Linked DNA regions of Homo sapiens: regions 1 and 2 are each linked to region 3. Evidence: promoter capture Hi-C in 16 types of primary human blood cells and fetal thymus (Javierre and others, 2016). All regions are on one chromosome and are shown on one strand. Each heading gives the region's core, a stretch centred on a gene start or on the middle of the fragment in contact. The rest is flanking DNA. Distances are from core to core; before and after follow the strand shown.

Region 1 (2,739 bases), core at 170-2,669, 130 kb before region 3:
ACATCCTGCCTGTTGACGTCTGATATCTTTTATTTTCATTCCAGGGGAAGCCATATGTTTTTGACCGTGTATTCCCCCCAAACACGACTCAAGAGCAAGTTTATCATGCATGTGCCATGCAGATTGTCAAAGGTAATAGATTTCTTTTTAGAATGTCTCTTCTCAGCACCCCATTTCCTACCCGACCTATCTCCACCAGTACTCTTTCTCTACTGTCTCTTCCAGATGTCCTTGCTGGCTACAATGGCACCATTTTTGCTTATGGACAGACATCCTCAGGGAAAACACATACCATGGAGGTGAGGGTTCTGGCTTTGGTGGTTGAGGGGCTAGGAGTGTTAATGGAAGATCAGGGAATCTCAGTGGGGGAAGGTCTAGGAATCAAGGATTGCCTGGTCCAGAGGCAGATAGATGAGTACAGAGGATGAACTGAAGGGCAATATTAGGGGAAGTTTAATGGAATCCCTCCAACCCACTGCAGTGGATCATCCTTTCCACTACTCCAGTCTTCTTTTGATCGGGAAAAGCAATGGAAGTCCAAAGGGCTACTCAATTATCTCCTTGCTCCTCTAAAAGGCAGACATGGTGGTGACCATCTCCTAACTTAGGATGTTCTTCTTATTGACTCTTGCCTTGGTGTTCACCTGCATACATCTGAGTTGTCTCATTCTCCCTGAGCCCCAGCTTCACTCTCAAATACCTTCACTCGCCAGGGAAAGCTGCACGACCCTCAGCTGATGGGAATCATTCCTCGAATTGCCCGAGACATCTTCAACCACATCTACTCCATGGATGAGAACCTTGAGTTCCACATCAAGGTGACCAGGGCACGACAGCTGGGCATTCAGATGGGGACTGGGAGGGGAAGATCTAAAATCTTCCCACTGAAGAGCCTGGGCTCCCCAACTTGACTCCCTTTCCGGTTACCAGAGTTCTTTGTCAAGATGTTCTCTTCTGTTCTTTTCCTCCCACCACCGTTTGAGCAGGTCACATTAGTATGGGATTCCTGAACTAGATTTAAGATAGGCCCTCTTTACTTCACACTCCTTCTTTCTTCTTAACCAGGTTTCTTACTTTGAAATTTACCTGGACAAAATTCGTGACCTTCTGGATGGTGAGTGTTTTGTCCCAGTGGATGAGGGTGTGTGAGGAGGGTGGAGAAAAGAAAGCTCACATTGCATTTGGAATTAGGTACCAATTGACAAGAGATGCAGAGGGCACACAGCACCCAAGTCTTTTGGCCCCGTTTACCAGAATTTCCAAAAACTGAGAAGGTCAGGAGATGAGCTTAGCAGCCAAGGACTACATATAAACAGTTCGAGAGGATCTGGGGCCGAGGAGCAGGAGCCCTGAGGAGGAGAAGGAGGAGGAACTGAGCCTTCAGCTCGTGCAGGGAGTTTAGGCTTCACAGGGAGAGTCTTCCTTTAGCACAGAGAAGAAAACCACCATCTGAGCTGACTGCAAGGTGCAGATGGGGGCGGTGGAAGTACTAGTCTTGCTTACCCTGCATTCTTTTGATTCAGTGACCAAGACAAATCTGTCCGTGCACGAGGACAAGAACCGGGTGCCATTTGTCAAGGTGAGAGTGGGTGTGGGGCACCTATGTGGGGCCAGTGTATTGAGAATGTTGGTGGGGGAGGAGCATAGGTCAGTGACCCTGAAGTTGGAGGGTGGATATCCTGGAGGAATGAGATGTGCCTAGGGGCCAGGGAGAGTCTAGGGGATCAGAAAAGATACTGTCTTGGCTGGGCATGGTGGCTCATACCTGTAATCCCAGCACTTTGGGAGGCTGAGGTGGGTGGATCACTTGAGGCCGGGAGTTCAAGACCAGCCTGGCCAATATAGTGAAACCCCGTTTCTACTAAAAATACAAAAAATTAACTGGGCGTGGTGGCACATGCTTGTAATCCCAGCTATTTGGGACACTGAAGCAGGAGAATCTCTTGAACCTGGGAGGCAGAGGTTGCGGTGAGCCGAGATTGCGCCACTGCACTCCAGCCTGGGCGACAGAGTGAGAACCTGTCTTTAAAAAAAAAGAAGAAAAGAAAAGATACTGTCTTGAAAGGTCATTGGTCAGTGTGCATGCAATTTAATTTGCAAATCAAAGTTTACTGGAAGAAATGCCTGTAATCCCAACACTTTAGAAGGCTGAGGTGGGAGGATCACTTGAGGAGTTCAAGATCAGCCTGGCCAACATAGCAAGACCCGTCTCTCTTATTTAATCTAATTTTTTTTTTTTTTTTTTTTGGAGACAGAGTCTCACTCTGTTGCCCAGGCTGGAGTGCAGTGGCTCGACCTAGGGTCACTGCAACCTCCCTGTCCTGGGTTCAAACGATTCTCCTGCGTCAGGCTCCCGAGTAGCTGGGACTACAGGCATGTGCCACCACGCCTGGCTGATTTTAGTATTTTTAGTAGAGACGGGGTTTCACCATGTTGGCCAGGCTGGTCTCTAATTCCTGACCTCAGGTGATCCACCTGCCTCAGCCTCCCAAAGTGCTGGAATTACAGGCATGAGCCACTATGCTGAGTCTCTTGTTTAAAAAAAAAAAAAAATTTTTGTCAGGCATGGTGGCACACACCTGTAGTCCCAGCTACTCAGGAGGCTGAGGCGGGAGAATTGCTTGAGCTCAAGAGTTTGAGGTTGCAGTGAGCCATGATAGTGCCACTGCACTCCAGCCTGTGTAGTAGAGAGACAGTGGTTTTTTTTGTTTGTTTGTTTTTGTTTTTGGAGACAGATTC
Region 2 (2,700 bases), core at 82-2,581, 220 kb before region 3:
TCAGCTCTGCCTATACTGTCAGCCGCCGCTCCTCCCTGGCCTCTCCTTTCCCCCCTGGCTCCCCACCAGAGAATGGAGCATCCTCCCTGCCTGGCCTTATGCCTGCCCAGCACTACCTGCTTCGGGCAAGATATGCTTCAGCCAGAGGGGGTGGTACTTCGCCCACTGCAGCATCCAGCCTGGATCGGATAGGTGGTCTTCCCATGCCTCCTTGGAGAAGCCGAGCCGAGTATCCAGGATACAACCCCAATGCAGGGGTCACCCGGAGGGCCAGTGACCCAGCCCAGGCTGCTGACCGTCCTGCTCCAGCTAGAGTCCAGAGGTTCAAGAGCCTGGGCTGTGTCCATACCCCACCCACTGTGGCAGGGGGAGGACAGAACTTTGATCCTTACCTCCCAACCTCTGTCTACTCACCACAGCCCCCCAGCATCACTGAGAATGCTGCCATGGATGCTAGAGGGCTACAGGAAGAGCCAGAAGTTGGGACCTCCATGGTGGGCAGTGGTCTGAACCCCTATATGGACTTCCCACCTACTGATACTCTGGGATATGGGGGACCTGAAGGGGCAGCAGCTGAGCCTTATGGAGCGAGGGGTCCAGGCTCTCTGCCTCTTGGGCCTGGTCCACCCACCAACTATGGCCCCAACCCCTGTCCCCAGCAGGCCTCATATCCTGACCCCACCCAAGAAACATGGGGTGAGTTCCCTTCCCACTCTGGGCTGTACCCAGGCCCCAAGGCTCTAGGTGGAACCTACAGCCAGTGTCCTCGACTTGAACATTATGGACAAGTGCAAGTCAAGCCAGAACAGGGGTGCCCAGTGGGGTCTGACTCCACAGGACTGGCACCCTGCCTCAATGCCCACCCCAGTGAGGGGCCCCCACATCCACAGCCTCTCTTTTCCCATTACCCCCAGCCCTCTCCTCCCCAATATCTCCAGTCAGGCCCCTATACCCAGCCACCCCCTGATTATCTTCCTTCAGAACCCAGGCCTTGCCTGGACTTTGATTCCCCCACCCATTCCACAGGGCAGCTCAAGGCTCAGCTTGTGTGTAATTATGTTCAATCTCAACAGGAGCTACTGTGGGAGGGTGGGGGCAGGGAAGATGCCCCCGCCCAGGAACCTTCCTACCAGAGTCCCAAGTTTCTGGGGGGTTCCCAGGTTAGCCCAAGCCGTGCTAAAGCTCCAGTGAACACATATGGACCTGGCTTTGGACCCAACTTGCCCAATCACAAGTCAGGTTCCTATCCCACCCCTTCACCATGCCATGAAAATTTTGTAGTGGGGGCAAATAGGGCTTCACATAGGGCAGCAGCACCACCTCGACTTCTGCCCCCATTGCCCACTTGCTATGGGCCTCTCAAAGTGGGAGGCACAAACCCCAGCTGTGGTCATCCTGAGGTGGGCAGGCTAGGAGGGGGTCCTGCCTTGTACCCTCCTCCCGAAGGACAGGTATGTAACCCCCTGGACTCTCTTGATCTTGACAACACTCAGCTGGACTTTGTGGCTATTCTGGATGAGCCCCAGGGGCTGAGTCCTCCTCCTTCCCATGATCAGCGGGGCAGCTCTGGACATACCCCACCTCCCTCTGGGCCCCCCAACATGGCTGTGGGCAACATGAGTGTCTTACTGAGATCCCTACCTGGGGAAACAGAATTCCTCAACTCTAGTGCCTAAAGAGTAGGGAATCTCATCCATCACAGATCGCATTTCCTAAGGGGTTTCTATCCTTCCAGAAAAATTGGGGGAGCTGCAGTCCCATGCACAAGATGCCCCAGGGATGGGAGGTATGGGCTGGGGGCTATGTATAGTCTGTATACGTTTTGAGGAGAAATTTGATAATGACACTGTTTCCTGATAATAAAGGAACTGCATCAGAAAAAATACCATGCCACTTTATGTATTATTATGTTGGGGAGGAATGATAACAGGGAACAAGAAGAGAAGCAGGGGTTAATCCACTCACTTTCCTCTTTAGAGAAGCTCCCTCACCCATCCCAACACCTCAAGTCACACTCATGAAGATAGAGACAGTCATTTGGGAGATTTAAAGGGATATCCTCAAAACAGAACACCAGCCTCTCACCACCAGAGATGACCGGAAATATGTTTTCTCTTCTTCCTTCCCTGCATCAGGGGAAGAGGCTGGTGAAGTTGGTGAGCATCAGCTGGACCAGCTGCCCTGGGTAGAGAGCATGGGCTGCTGGGTCAGATGTCTCCTGCTCTGGCCGAAACAGGGTTGGTCCAAACACAATTCCCAGGTTGTGGGGTGTCATGCGATTCTTATCTGAGTGTGCTATCACCCTGTAAGCAAAGGCCAAGGAAGGGGATATATGGCAGCAGCTTGCCACTTCATAGCAATCTAACTAACCCTTCAAAGTTCTGAGCAGGGAAGAGTTCACTCTGGGATTCCTCCACATGGTAACAAAAAAACCAAGGAGATACAAGGAGAATGGAGATGGACCAGTGGAGAAACCTTCAGGATACAACCTGAAGATATAACTGCCTCTTCCGACTTCAGGGGCTGCCCCAAGAGTTCTGCCTGCTCACAGTTTGGGAGTCTTTAATTCAAGTGGCCATCCTCTCTCAGAAGTCACTGCCCAGGCCCAGTTCAACCAAAGAAGCCATCAGCAATGTCCCAATGGGAGACAAAGAGGCAGAGGGAAGGGAGAAGTAAGATTTCCCTTATTCCTTTCACAGC
Region 3 (2,700 bases), core at 108-2,607:
GATACGGGGTTTCACCACGTTAGCCAGGCTGGTCTTGAGCTCCTGACCTCAAGTGATCCGCCCGTCTCGGACTCCCACAGTTTTGGGATTACAGGCGTAAGCCACCGTGCCCGGCCTATTTTTAAATTTTTTATTTTTAGTGTTTTTTCCCCTCCCTTGCAATTTATGTTTCCTCTCATTTGCTTTTCCCTTCTTGTTTGTTTCTTACTTGTATATTAAAGTCCTTCCTTAAATGTCTAATGATCTCTGGCTATTTATTTTGAAGAGTAAGAACACTAAAAAGCTGATTGGAAAGTGGAATGAGGGCTGGGGCACGTAGGCCAAAGTGTTACATGTGGAATTCATTCTAGTTATCTATATCATTAAGAGAACTCTGATAAGGGTATCTTTGGGATTTTTCGTTTTGGCTGGTGAGATTCCCCAGAGAGGGTTTTCCAAAGGTATAATCAGCCTCTTGTTTACCTTTGTTTCGTAATAAATATTCTCAAGTTTGCTAAACCAGTTAACATTCTTCTGTTTGATTTCCAGCTTCCAAAATGTTGCTGTTGTTGTCTCCTTTCCCTTTCTTACGGCCTGGAGAGTAATACATAATTTCACCTTAACTGGAAGCCCATGTATGCATGTATGTATGTATGTATGTATGTATGTATGTATGTATGTATGTACGTACTTATTTGAGACGGGGTTTCGCTGTGTTGCGCAGGCTGCACTTGAACTCCTGGGCTCAGGAGATCCTCCTGCCTCAGCCTCCGGAGTAGCTGATACCACAGGTGCGTGCCACCACGTCTGGCTGCCCGCATTATTTCTCTAGGATTTTTACTGGAGGTCATTTTACTGGAGGTCAACTGCAGGATCGTATAGGAAGGTTTTGACACAAATTTTCTGATTGCCTCAAAGCAATATGTATATATGAAAAGAGGTAAGCGTCCGTATAATAATTGTTTGTTTTGCAACAAGCATTTAATAACTTTCACCGGCACTGCGCACGCTACCTATCTGCCTCAATACTCCGCCCGGCGGTGGGCAGGATATAATGCAAGAGACGTCTGAAAAAGCAATGAGATGCGCATGACAGCTGGGCGAAGACAGAGGGCAAACTTAAAAGGACCAAGCGCATAGACCACGCCTCTGAAATTGGGGAACGAGGAGGGGTTTGATCTTGTCGATGATTGGCTGGTCTCTGACCAATCACGGACAGCGATTGATATTTCTAATCGTCGTGATCCACCTCCCCAGGACCTTGGAGCCACGTTTACAAATAGGAATAGGGTACGTGGGAGGGATAGAACGTACAGCCAATAAAATCATGTGGCGCCGATGGGCGTGTTGAGGCCGCTGCCTGGCTTAGGGCGGAAACAGATTCTCTGCATAAGAAGGGGAACGAAAGATGGCGGCGGAAACGCTGCTGTCCAGTTTGTTAGGACTGCTGCTTCTGGGACTCCTGTTACCCGCAAGTCTGACCGGCGGTGTCGGGAGCCTGAACCTGGAGGAGCTGAGTGAGATGCGTTATGGGATCGAGATCCTGCCGTTGCCTGTCATGGGAGGGCAGGTGAGAGGCGTATAAGGGGCGAGGGTCTGGGCAGAAGAGGAAGCGGGTAAGAGATAGAGGAAGAAGGGCAGCTCCGGAGTCTGGGGCTGGAGCCTACGGGGAATCGGGAAGAGTAGGTATTGCTTTTACGGTGACCCCTGGGGGTCGCAGACTGAGACCAATTCTCTGGGGGCCAGGAATTGGGAGAGGTGGGGCTTCCCGCTGTCAACCTTCAGGTCTCAGTTTATGATCGAAACACCCGGACTCCGCCCCCGTGGAGAAATGGGAGCGCCCTCTCCTCTCACCCACTAAATACAGCTGGAGGGCTTATGGCTTATTCTGTCTTCGACTGATCTCTTCCCCAGGGTTTGAAGAGGGATTTCGTTGTTCTCCCTGATCCCAGCCTTTCTTTGCTTCCTTGCCCCCCGACCCTCCCTTCTTTCCCAGAGCCAATCTTCGGACGTGGTGATTGTCTCCTCTAAGTACAAACAGCGCTATGAGTGTCGCCTGCCAGCTGGAGCTATTCACTTCCAGCGTGAAAGGGAGGAGGAAACACCTGCTTACCAAGGGCCTGGGATCCCTGAGTTGTTGAGCCCAATGAGAGATGCTCCCTGCTTGCTGAAGGTGAAAGGGACTGGGTTAGATAGAATGAGGGCTTGGAAACTAGCAGTTCATCCAAGAACTGGAGTCCACTGAATGAGGCAGGATCTAGGGGACCTGTAGTGGTTAAGAAGACCACTGGAGGAGTAGACAGATTACACGGACAGGAAAGAAGCAAAGAATCCTGCAACCACTGATGACACTTTGCTGAACGTAGGAGCAGGTTAGGATAGAAGATCTCAGAAAAGGGCTAAAGCAAGATTGAGGGTCTGCGTGGGGTAGGAGGAGTACTTCCTTAAGCCTACTTGCTAAAGTCACCCCCTGCCCTATCACTCTGCTCCAGTATCCTGTTTTATTTTCATCGTAGCACTTTTCATGATCTGAAATCATATTTACTGAATCAGTTTGTTTATTTTCGGTCTGATTCCCCGCATTAGAGTGTAAACTCCATGAGGTCAAAGAATTAATCTTGTTCACAGTTGTATTCCCAGTGGCCAGAACAGTGCCAGGAATGTTCAAGAAGTTCAATTAATATTTAATTTTGGGTTCTTCTATGTTTCCCTAATATAATT

Evidence for each region. The method cuts DNA at HindIII sites, captures the fragments that hold promoters and counts their contacts. A CHiCAGO score of 5 or more calls a contact.
Region 1: a contact is called between a fragment that was not itself captured here and the fragment with the promoter of OS9 in region 3, in 2 of 17 cell types (M0 macrophages and M1 macrophages). The highest score is 5.3, in M0 macrophages.
Region 2: a fragment that was not itself captured here is called in contact with the fragment with the promoter of OS9 in region 3 in 1 of 17 cell types (total CD8 T cells); the score reaches 5.2 in total CD8 T cells.

Annotation. Positions count from the first base shown.
Region 1 is chr12:57,563,395-57,566,133 of GRCh38, forward strand. KIF5A (kinesin family member 5A) reads left to right here. Exons shown (of 29, transcript NM_004984.4): 2 at 45-132; 3 at 226-299; 4 at 714-818; 5 at 1,066-1,114; 6 at 1,524-1,579. Among named protein-coding and RNA genes, the nearest start is that of KIF5A, 15 kb to the left of the region's middle. The HindIII fragment of the contact is 4,556 bases long and covers 1-2,739 here.
Region 2 is chr12:57,470,386-57,473,085 of GRCh38, forward strand. It overlaps GLI1 (GLI family zinc finger 1), which reads left to right. Exons shown (of 12, transcript NM_005269.3): 12 at 1-1,883. The coding sequence ends at 1,676. It overlaps ARHGAP9 (Rho GTPase activating protein 9), which reads right to left. Exons shown (of 18, transcript NM_032496.4): 18 at 1,884-2,303. The coding sequence ends at 2,132. Among named protein-coding and RNA genes, the nearest start is that of ARHGAP9, 8.1 kb to the right of the region's middle. The HindIII fragment of the contact is 4,786 bases long and covers 1-2,700 here.
Region 3 is chr12:57,692,775-57,695,474 of GRCh38, forward strand. OS9 (OS9 endoplasmic reticulum lectin) reads left to right here and starts at 1,358. Exons shown (of 15, transcript NM_006812.4): 1 at 1,358-1,549; 2 at 1,976-2,152. The coding sequence starts at 1,388. RefSeq lists enhancers at 987-1,561, 1,549-1,598. The HindIII fragment of the contact is 11,057 bases long and covers 1-2,700 here.